Linked DNA regions of Homo sapiens: all the other regions are linked to region 4. The links are contacts of gene promoters, found by promoter capture Hi-C in blood cells and fetal thymus (Javierre and others, 2016). All regions are on one chromosome and are shown on one strand. Each heading gives the region's core, a stretch centred on a gene start or on the middle of the fragment in contact. The rest is flanking DNA. Distances are from core to core; before and after follow the strand shown.

Region 1 (2,700 bases), core at 89-2,588, 560 kb after region 4:
GAAAAGGGGGCAGATGGATGATGTGACCGTGACAGCAGGACTGACATGTGCATTGTCCTCCATGAATATCCCAAAGTGAGTGAGGGAGCTCTGATTGCTTCTCTATGCTTCTGCATTGCTGAGAGGGAGAGGAAATACAGGAGAAGACAGCCCAGACTCTGCCATCAAAGACAACTGTGTTTACGTCACTACAATTTTTTAACCCTTCTTGAAATTCACAAAAGCATCAAGGTGAACCTTCTAAATGTTGGAAGATGAATCTAGTTCCTAATCTCAGATGAGCAAGAAATGGTTTTTTCTATTTAAATCAAATTGTCTGATTCCCAGTGCCCATCTGACCATGGGCTCAAATACCTCTCAGTGCTTATTGCTGTTGCTGCCCTCCCAGGGATGCACCAACATCCCAGGGTCTTACCCAACCCCAAGCAAGAGAGTGGGAGGTGACACTTCGTCTACCCAATAGGGCATCTGTGGCACACTGTTTCCAAGGAGAGGTTCCGTGGCGGCTGTGCCATGCTGGTGACTTGAGAATCTTGGGCTAGTCCTGAGTCCTGAGTTTATGACCCCATCTCTGGGTGCCTTGGGTAGGCATCACTCCTCCCCAGTCTAGGGAAAAAACCTTAGATGGATCTGCTAACCTCAGTTCCGGCAGAGCTTCACCATCTTTAGGCACTTCCAGTTCCTGCAAACACATCCTTACTTTCAATCCTTGACCTTGAACACCCTCCCTCTGCTCTACATGCTTCGACCCTTTGTCTCATCTCTTCTACAAACTTAGGCTTTTTGGAGAGGCAGAAACAGTATTTTGTTTAGGCAAATTTGGCTCTCAATCTCGGAGAACAAAAATGAAAATTTAAAAAGCTTAGTTAAGGAAATATCAAGGGCATGACTCCTTCTTGGAACAGAGAAAAGGGAAAAGGCAGGGAGAATACAGACTCCTCAAAAAAATTTTTTTAAATATTTAATTTAAAGAGCAAACTGAACCACACCACTCCCTCAACTACAGCTTTTCAATGACTTGCCATCACCTATTATATAAAGTATCTCACTATTATTGATAAAACAATTTAAGGTGCTATCCCTGCCTGATAAAGTGCTTTACAAACTTTAATGTGCATCAAATCACCTGGCAGTCTTCTTAAAATGCAGATTCTGATTCAGAAGTTCTGGAGTGAGGCCTGGGATTCTACCTTTCTAACAAGCTCCCAGGGGATGCGAAGTCTACTCCTTCAAGGACCACACTTTGAGTAGCAAGGGACCACAGCTTTCGCTTCAGATATACCACATATAAAACTGTCTCTGTAACATCACACAATTGTTTCTTAGTGGACTGTAGGATAACCACCTGCCTGAGAATTATCTAGGGCCTTTTGTGTCAAATGCTGGTTTTCTGGACTTCATCCCAGATCCACTGGTTCAGAATCTCTGTGGTGGGTCATGGTGTCTGTATTTTTTTCAAATATATTTTGTGTGTGTATCTGCATTTTAACAAGCTCTCTCGGTGCCTTCTATGCTCAGTAGCATTTAGGATGCATTGCCCTTGCTTTATCCATGATTAACTACTCAGTGTGTTCCTAAGGTGTCTTTCACCTGCCTGCCCCCAGGCCTTTGCATTGACTGGGGATTCTACTACCAATGTCCTTACCAGCATCCTTCTCCACCTCTTGTCTATACATTTTACCTGGATTCTTCTTACTAACCCTTCGGAAGCCTTCTCGGTCCACTGCCAATCTGCAGTGGATACCCTCTGTGCTGCATTAAAGCATCCCATGAATACTTTGGTCCTCTTGTTTTGTCTATTGGAATGTCTCCCTCCAAGCTTAGGAGCAACTTGAGGGCAGAAAGTTCTTTATCATTTACATCCTATGGACATAACCAGATGGATGGATGATGTATGAAACAGATAGACAGACAGACAGACAGAAAGACAAGACAAGACTAGATGGATAAGATAAGATAAGATAAGATAAGATATAGTGTGAGGTGGGATAAGGTAAGATAGGTGATGGATAAAATGAATCAAGGGTAGATCAGTATTTCCATCCAGATACATATAGAAGTTTTACATTGAATAAAATTCTTAGGAGTTGTTTAAAATAAGTTTTGCTAAATGCACCAACAGATGTCAAGGTCAAAGCAGGGCTCTTCCTCCCAAGAAGAGTGCTGCACCCTCAGTTTTATCTTCCACACTGTCAGAGAAGTGACAATATAATCTCTCTTAAAAAGGCATTTGAGACTACCTTCTTCCAAAGTCCCATGCATGCACTTTTATTCACCTTTCTGTCATCCACAAAGTGCATCTCAGTTTCTGCCACCATAGCTGCTGTGTTACAGACTAAAATTTCAGGAGAAAGAATAGCTAGAATTTATTAGGCATTTTCTGCCATCTAGGGACTCTACCAATCACTTTTACGTTAAATATCTCTTACAAGCTGCACAATGACCCTAATGTATATTGCCAATGGGAAACTGAGTCTAAAGAGGTTAAGACAGCTACTTCAGATCAAGGAGCTAGGAAAGAGGACGAAACTTGAGACCCAGGACTGTCTCACCCCAGAGGCAATGCTCTGAACCTCTGTGTCACTTCCCAGGGAATATGCTCTGGTCACCCATGGGCACAGCATTCAAAGCCTTTGGGACATTCACTGGGTAGACTTTCAGACTGTCACCTTTTCACTGGATGACTATGGGTCATTTTCA
Region 2 (2,712 bases), core at 84-2,583, 520 kb after region 4:
GTGCTTTATTCTAAAAAATAGTTTCACTTTTTTTTGAGAAGTATCTATAGAAGGAACTATTATTTATTATGTTTTAGGGCCTTTTTTCCACTACATAGAGGGGTACAATCTAGATTTTGCATGTTTGCTATTTACTCTCAAATAAGTACCTCTATTTTCCTTTCCATATAAAAGACAATGTCAGATTGTCCCTGGAGAACAATAGGCACTGGCAAGTAGCCTGAAGATCTCCTTCACGTGCATGTTTCCCAGGTGGAGGACCAACGCAGAAGTGGAGAGTAAATCACCAATAGGGGATTGGTTTTGGCAACATGAGAATTTGCTCAGCTTGATTCAAGTTGTGTATGTGCCAAGTTCACTCAAACACAACACATAACCTGCCATCTAGATATTAAGCCAGGATATGTGATGTACAGAGAAATATTATATGTCAGCAGAGAGCTCTGCTACAAAACTTCTTTCCATCACCAAAATAACAATAGAAAAATTCATGCTTTTTCAATTGCACATCAGTGGTCCTGATCTTCAAAATTGTAATAAATCTTCCTTAATGTTAATTCCCAAGCTAATTATGAACAACCTGAGCACAAAGTCTAACGCTTGGAGTTTTCTGTGAGTAATGCTCCTCCCTCTTCCTAAAATCCCTTCAACTGAAAGAATGGAAGCAAGGTAAGAAGGGACAAGTGTCTCCCCTCTGTTACCTCACTCAGTATTTTCCATGAGAAGCATCTCATGTTGGGTGGCGGGCTGGGGGGTGGTCTGAGCTCGCTGGAGCAGCTCTCAGGTCTTGTGGCCAAAGGGATGACGCCAGAGGTCCACAACGCCGGGAACTCCCAAGATGGAATAGTCCTTGAAGCCATTTTGAAGGGACTTGCTTGGATATATAATTCAGCTGGGTGTAATTGTGACAGGAGATATGATAGCCAAAAGCTTGAACTGTCGATCTTAATTCTCAGATCCTCCAACTCAGTGGGAAGGTCCTATCTTTCCTACCTGCCTTTGGAAACACCAAAGTCACCTTTTCTATGCTCTGGCCCCCTGCCTTCCTAAATAGCTCTTAGTTACGAACTACTGATAACTTCCTGTATGGACACAAATTATTTTTAGCAATTTTACCCAAAACCTTTAGACTGGACATTGTTGTGATTTTCTAATATTCACTTAATTCCTCCCCCATAGCAAAGTAGACACACAGTTTGGGAAGAAGAGCCTCACCCTCAAAACTCCCACTCCAGGTGAGCGGTGCTGACGCTTTCCGGTCTTTCACTTATCAGGGGGGGCGGGGTGCCCTGAAGGCTAACAGCACAGGTGCTGGTGTTAGATCCTAAGTTCCAATGTTAGTTCTGCCTCTTACCTTCTCCAGCCTTCATTTTCTTCATTTCTACAATGGGGATTATAATGGTACCCCTCCTTAAGGGCATGTTGTGGGGGTTAAATGAGACTGTCCACGCAAAATGGTTTTAGCAGTGCATATAGTAGGCATTCAGAACATAACAGGGATATAGTGGGGCTCAACACAAGGCAGCAAGTGTGACCACTGTATTAATGTTTCGGGGGAAAAGTGGTGCCAAAAAAGTGACTTTATGAATTCAGAAACCAAAGGACTCAGAGAGTAACAATATATGAGGCTTCAAATGGAAATGGACAAGTTGGGTGGGAAAGAAGAAGTTAGACAGGCAAGTGTCTAGGCAATTGGCTTGTGTGTCCTGTGGCTGCAGAGATGGTGGGACAAGTAACAAGCTTCCAGGTCTGTCAAGTTGCTCTTCTCCCAACCCCTAGGGATCTGATGAGGCCACAACAGAGTCTTAGTACTGAGGCAATGGAAACTTAGTAGTATCAAATACAACCCTCTCTTTTTCCAGATGGAGAAATGACTTGCTCTAGGTCATGCAATGGTTCATGGTACAAATAGAAATGCAACAAAGATCTCCTGGCAGCCAGACTGGCATTTTTTTAACCCAGCAACCAGGTATCTAATTAGCTTCTATTATAATGCTCCCATGAAAGCATTCAGTGTATCATGAGCTGCAAGACAACTTTACACACAAACAAATCCTAGTTAAAGCTTTAACTACTGAGAAGAAAAATGTGGCACCATGCATTCCTTTGCATCAGTGAGAAGACTAGAAAGCAATCATTATTTTGCTAAAATTTGCAAACCATTGAATCAATAGAATGTACTTACATTAGGGTATCAGTCTACACACAAAAGAGTTAACTACAGAACATAAACTGGGTGCAAGCAGAAAGATGGGATGTTGATTAAGAAAAATGGTCCTAGCTAAACCAGAAGGGCTAAAAAGTGCTTTCACAATCTAAAATTTACCGTTTTGACCCTTACAACTGTCACGAGATCTGGGACACAAGGACCCACATTTCAGTTACTTAAATTCTCAGGGCTCCAGATTCTGCTTCTATAAACAGAAGATAATAACATCTGACTCACAGCATTGTTTTCATGAGACATTAGTGAGAAATTGTTGATGATGTCCAGCACAGTACCAGACCCAGGGTGTTTGGCACTGCCTCTCCCAATCCAGGTATAGCCAAAGATACTCATTTTCTGGAAAAGCAATAATTATCTGTTATGCAGCAGGTCTTTCCTAATTGGGCTCTTGTTCTGTTTTGTTTTAATGATTTTTCCAAATTAAATACAGAGCAAGGAAGCTGGTTTAGATTACAGGGTCACTGCAAAATAACTGAGACAGTAGA
Region 3 (2,700 bases), core at 109-2,608, 540 kb after region 4:
CATTCCATTCATTCATTCCATAAGCATGTATCAAACACGCACTGTGTGCCAGGTACTGTATTTGGTACTGGCAATTTGATTCCTGTTTAGCATTTTGAATAGAAATGACCACAGATTCTCATAGATAATCATCGCAGGGTGTGATATGTGCTGTGTGAAAATCATATGCAGGGTGCACTGAAAACACAAAGGACAAGGTAATACCTGAGAGGTCAGAGTCACAAATCATAGTAAAGGTCACCTATTCTGAGCCTAAGAACAGTAGTAGAATTTTCCCAGGTAAGCAAGCAGACAGAAGGACATTACAGCAAAGGGAACAGATATGCAAAGGTTCAGAAGTCTTTTTGAGAAATACAAATTCTGGGAAATGGCAAGTGAATTATGGCTGCAGTAGAGGAAGCACAGATCCCAGCTATAGACAGGACCTGGATGGAACTGTGGTCTGGGTGAGACCTGAATGGCCCCTAAATGGCACATAAAGGAATCTGGATTTAATATTGCAGGACACCAAAAAGATTTTGAGAATTTTTATCTTCAAACACATGATCTCATTTTATGAGACAGTGAAGGTTAAATATAAGGGCTTTGGGGTCACGGGGTTGTTGAGATGATTAGGTTGATGTCTGTATGTATAGCTGTATAGCTCACAGTGTCTGAGCTATACTCTGCACTCAATAGATCGTAGATATTGCACTAGTAAGAGTGAGAAATCATTGTTAATCCTCACAGCAACCATTTGAAGGAGGCGTGAGAGGAGAGGAAAGGAAAGCTCAAAAGGGCTTAAGGGACTTGACCTAACTCCAGTAAGTAGTTTGTGGAGAAGCATGAACTTAACATCACATTTTGGGACTCTAAGTCCAGTGCTGTCTCTTTTCTTAACATCATAATGTGTCGCTTCATGTTTTAGTCTGTTTTGTGCTTCTACAACAAAATATCTAAGATTGGGTAATTTATAAGAAATGAAAATTGTTTTCTTACTGTTCTGGAGGCATGGAAGTCCAAATCAAGGTGCCAGCATTTGATCTAGAGAGGGCCTTCCGGCTTTGTCCTCACATGGCAGAAGGGCAAGCTTGCTGAACGCTGCATGAAGTCTCTTTTAGAAGGGCCTTAATCAAATTCTCGAGGAAGCAGCCCTCATGACCTAATCACCCCTTAAAGGCCCCACCTCTTAGAACTATCACATTGACAACACCTGGATTTTGGAAGGGACAAATTCAAACCATAGCATCCTAACTTTTTCACTTACAGTCAGCCCAGAGGGAGCAAAATGACACTTTCTAAAACACTGTCCCTTCAGTTCCTCCACAAAGGAAGGCTAAGAGAAAAGACAGGATTGGGCTAACCATTAGCCTGGTTGCAAATAACATCAATGATAACACTAACACAGCAGGAATAACCACAGCGTTAAAAACCACTAACTTTTACCGAGCACTAGGTGCCAGGCACTGAGCTAAGTACATTGTACCACGTAACAACCCCCTAAATTAAGTGCTGTTCTACAGATGAACAAACTGAGGATCAGAGAGGTTAAACAACTTGTCCAAAGCTACAAAGACTGTAATTCATAGAGTCGAACCTGTACCAGATCACTCCTAAGCCAGTATATTTAACTTCTGTAAACAAAATTCTATATCCTGTCAAAAGCCATAAGCTTTAACACGGAGTTTTTCCAGAGCTGATGCTTCAGAATTGGACCCAGGAATCACTGGCTTGTTAGGCCACACAGTGACCCTGGCACATTGCAATCCTGTCTCTTGAAGAAGGGCAATCTCCTATTTGAAAAGCTACGTTGTGAAAAGTCTCTCTGCTCATGTAATGGGCTGAAAGGAACATCCGCAACTGAGTTTCACCACCCGGCAGTGTGTCTAAGGCTGGTGATGAATGGAAGGTGAGAGTGACACTTACTAAATCAGGGTGTGTCCTCCGTGCAGAGGAACGAGGAGCACCGGAAAGCCAGAGTGATTCACTGAGCCTGCTTTGGCTATCTGTGAAGACTTTATTCCAGGCTCACAGCAGGGAAAAACATACTTAAATCTTGCCTGCAGAGCTCTCTGGGAACAAAATCTATCACGTTACTGTAGGGGCAGAGAGAGAAATCAGCTCTGCAATTGTGGGGTGTGTCTAGCGACCAGTCACTGCTGTCAACATTTAAACTTGCCCTGCATGCGTCATGAGATGCTATCAGCAATGGCAGTGCAACACAGTTCTAGCCAGTGGGCCGGGGAGCTCCATGGGCAGCTTTGAGGAGGTAGGAAACAGTATTAATGAACACAGGGTGAGAAAGGGCTTAGTTTAAAGGCTGTACGCCATCAGGAGTAATAAAAGCAGGATGCTAAGAAAGAGAACACTTCATTCATCCTCTCTCATGGTTGGTCATTGTCTCCCTAAACTGAGTATGCGCTTGCTACGAAGCCCAGCCTCCCGTGCTGTGGAGATAAATCACATGCACAGTGGCATTCATGAGCAGGGAGAGACAGGAGTGCTTTAGCAACTCCTTACCACCCCATCCCCTTCTCTAGCCTTATTGCCTACTTCATAATAACCATGGAAGTTATGAGTCACAGCTTTTGTTGAACCCTTGCTCCATGCTAGGCAAAATGCAAAGTCCTTTTAGTCTATTAACTAATTTAATTGGTGAAGCAACCTTCCAAGGTGAGGACCATTATTATCCCTGTTTTACAGATGAGGTTTCAAGTAACT
Region 4 (2,793 bases), core at 144-2,643:
GTTGGTATTGACATAGCCTTTGTAGAAACAGTGCTTGAGTTCCGCTTCCTCTTCGGAATAAAACTTGGTCTGATTCACCCCGGGCGTCCCGAGGAGGGTGACAGTGAACAGTGGAGCGATAAATCCGGCATTGGCGGTGAGATTAAATAGAAACTGCTGGCCGAAGGCAGAGAGGCGGTAATGCGCCTGGGAGGAGGTAGAGGAGGAAGAGGAGGAGGCGAAGGCAGGCCAGGGGTCAGTGGCAGAGTTAATGCTCCGTCGCGTTCTTTTGAAGTGGACGTTCGTGGGAAAGGGTTCTCCGAGAGCGTTCACTCGGATGGGAGACACGATTTCGTATTCGCTCAGGGTCTCTAATAATTTCACTGCGGAGAGAAGCAGAGGTATATGAACCAATAATTCATTTTTCCTTAAGCTTTAATTTAAAACGAAGGTGGGGACTTTGTTCTGACCTTATTTTCCAGCCCATTCGAGTCAATCCCTTCACCCTTAATCAGTGGACAAATATTTGCTGAGCACCTACTATGTGCCAGTAACAGGACCTGTGCTAGGTGCTGAGGATACACTATTCCGAGCCAGACAATTAACAAGTCAAAATATATATGATTTCAGATATTGATAAATAACCTGAATAAAATAAAACATGACGCTATCTGGTGCCCCCAATTACTAAGTTACTTTAGTTTGCGGCGTGGGAGTGGGGATGGGGATATATCTGGCAACAGCAAGGTAGGGGGGGGTTGCCTAAATTCGTTTCCATAGTGTCCCTCCCTAGCAATTGGTTGGGGATGACCCAAAGAAGGGAGAGGCTGCAAAGCGGGAGATAATTCTTTCTAGGAAAAGGAGAGAAGCCTCCGCTGCGGGGTGCCCCTGCCCAGGAGCGAGGACCGGGAGGCGGCGTCGGGGCCGGCGGGGTCCCGGGGGCCGGAGCCTGGTTACCTTGCCTCGGGTGCAGCCTGTCCTTGCGCACGGCCGCCGCGGCGTCTGGGCTCCCCATCTCGGCCAGGTCCCGCACCAGGAGCGTTAGCAGTGTGGCCCAGGATACAAACTGCATGGTGCTTCCCACCCCTCCCTCCGCTGCCCCCACCCCCCTCCCTCCTGCCCTCCTTGGCTGCGGCGGCGACGCGAGGCAGCGGCCGTGGAGAGCGCGCGGAGCCCGGCGCCCGCCGCCAACTTTTGACTTTAGGAGTCGCTGAGGTCTCGCTGCGAGGGTCCCGTCTGCGCTCGGCTGAGCAACGCCGCCGCCTGCCGAGAGCTGAGCCGCTCGGGCCGCAGGAGGAGCCGGAGGAGCAGGAGGAGGAGGAGGACTGGGGCTCGGCTGCTTGGCCGCATAATGCCCAGCGAGCGGGCAGGAGAAGGCGAGGAACTTGCGCTCCGAGGCGCGCCGGGCGCCCTGTGCTGGCCGGGATAGCTGAGCGGCTTCTTGAATGGGGGGCTGGGGGGGCGGAGGCGGGGGGGCCGCGGGTCCACAGCCTCTCAAATGCCCCCGGTGCACGCCTCTAAGAGGAGGAGAGGGGAGGAGAAAGCGAGACGAACGGGGACCGCCTCCTTCCAGACCATGTCCCCTCCTCGGCCGGCCCGTGCGGGACTCGCAGCCGGAGGCCCTGCCGGCTGCAAGAGGCGGAGGCCAGAGGCGTCACCAGCGCCGGGGCAGCTGTTCCTGGTCCCCGCCACCTCGCTGAAGTGGGGTTTTCTGAGATTCCCTGCCCCGGGGAGGGAAAGCAGGGAAAGTTCTCTCCCTTTCCTGGCGCGCGTGCAGCCACTTCCCCTCTCGTCTTTTTCCTCTCCTCTCCTCTCTCTCCTCCCTTCCGAGTCTCTTTTTCCTCCTCCCCCTTGTCTCTCTGCTGCTGTGCCTCTCGGACTCTGTCCCTTCTCCCCATTTTCCCCTGTGATGTCTGTCTTCTCCCCGCCCCACCGTGTCCCTGTCTGTTTCTCACATTTCTCCTTTTCCTTTCCTTTCTCTTCCGTCCCCATCTCTTGCCACCAGTCCCCATCTTTTGGTTTCTTACAAGTGAAAGTGGCCCAGCGCCGGAGCGCCTTCCCTTCCTACACTTTTTCATTCGGGAAGAGATTTGGCACCTGAGCTCCGCTCTCGATTTAATCACCCCAAGTCAAGAGTTTTAGAAATGGGGTTCTTAATCCTGCAGGTCGGAGTGTGTTTCTAATACGTGGTCTCTTGAAAATTTCGCAAAATATTTAAGCTGTGCTTTCCACCAACCTCTGTCACCATTCATGGAGGGTCCATAGCATTCTGTAGGTCCCCTGCCCCAAAAAAGGTTAAGAACAAATTTTGGCAGCAAGAAGGGGCGGGGACTCTGGCGCCCCTCACTACCAGGGGGTTTAGAGATGGGAGGGGAAGGGGGGATGGAGTGTAAAGTTGTAGATCCCTGTGGGAGGCACCAGTCCCTGGAGGGATTTCTCAATCACTTCCGCTTGCTTTCAGCCTGAGAGATGCTTGGAAAGACTGGGAAAGACTGAAAGCAGGCGCTTCAAGCTACACCTTCGTGTGTGTGTGTGTGTGTGTGTGTGTGTGTGTGTGTGTGAATTGTTCAATCTTGGGTGGTTCAGTGGCGCCTTTTCTTTAACCAGCCCTCAGGAAGATAGAATTTCAAGATAATTTCAAGAGGAAAGACATGACAATATCGTTAAAAATATATAAATATATGACTAATAAATATATATTTGCCCAAGTATCCTAGAACGGGGGTTGAGGTTCTGTTGCGTGGTAGGTTAGCACTCAGGACTAGAAATACCAAAGATTGCCAACACCAGGAACCAAATCGCAATATGCTAGCA

Evidence for each region. The method cuts DNA at HindIII sites, captures the fragments that hold promoters and counts their contacts. A CHiCAGO score of 5 or more calls a contact.
Region 1: a contact is called between a fragment that was not itself captured here and the fragment with the promoter of ADAMTS9 in region 4, in 1 of 17 cell types (endothelial precursors). The highest score is 13.4, in endothelial precursors.
Region 2: a contact is called between a fragment that was not itself captured here and the fragment with the promoter of ADAMTS9 in region 4, in 1 of 17 cell types (endothelial precursors). The highest score is 6.9, in endothelial precursors.
Region 3: a contact is called between a fragment that was not itself captured here and the fragment with the promoter of ADAMTS9 in region 4, in 1 of 17 cell types (endothelial precursors). The highest score is 7.3, in endothelial precursors.

Annotation. Positions count from the first base shown.
Region 1 is chr3:65,248,230-65,250,929 of GRCh38, forward strand. No RefSeq gene overlaps it. Among named protein-coding and RNA genes, the nearest start is that of LINC02040, 75 kb to the left of the region's middle. The HindIII fragment of the contact is 958 bases long and covers 860-1,817 here.
Region 2 is chr3:65,207,662-65,210,373 of GRCh38, forward strand. No RefSeq gene overlaps it. Among named protein-coding and RNA genes, the nearest start is that of LINC02040, 34 kb to the left of the region's middle. The HindIII fragment of the contact is 810 bases long and covers 929-1,738 here.
Region 3 is chr3:65,228,500-65,231,199 of GRCh38, forward strand. No RefSeq gene overlaps it. Among named protein-coding and RNA genes, the nearest start is that of LINC02040, 55 kb to the left of the region's middle. The HindIII fragment of the contact is 582 bases long and covers 1,068-1,649 here.
Region 4 is chr3:64,686,607-64,689,399 of GRCh38, forward strand. ADAMTS9 (ADAM metallopeptidase with thrombospondin type 1 motif 9) reads right to left here and starts at 1,394. Exons shown (of 40, transcript NM_182920.2): 1 at 937-1,394; 2 at 1-362. The coding sequence starts at 1,051. All of the region lies in intron 1 of ADAMTS9-AS2 (ADAMTS9 antisense RNA 2), which reads left to right. The HindIII fragment of the contact is 3,589 bases long and covers 411-2,793 here.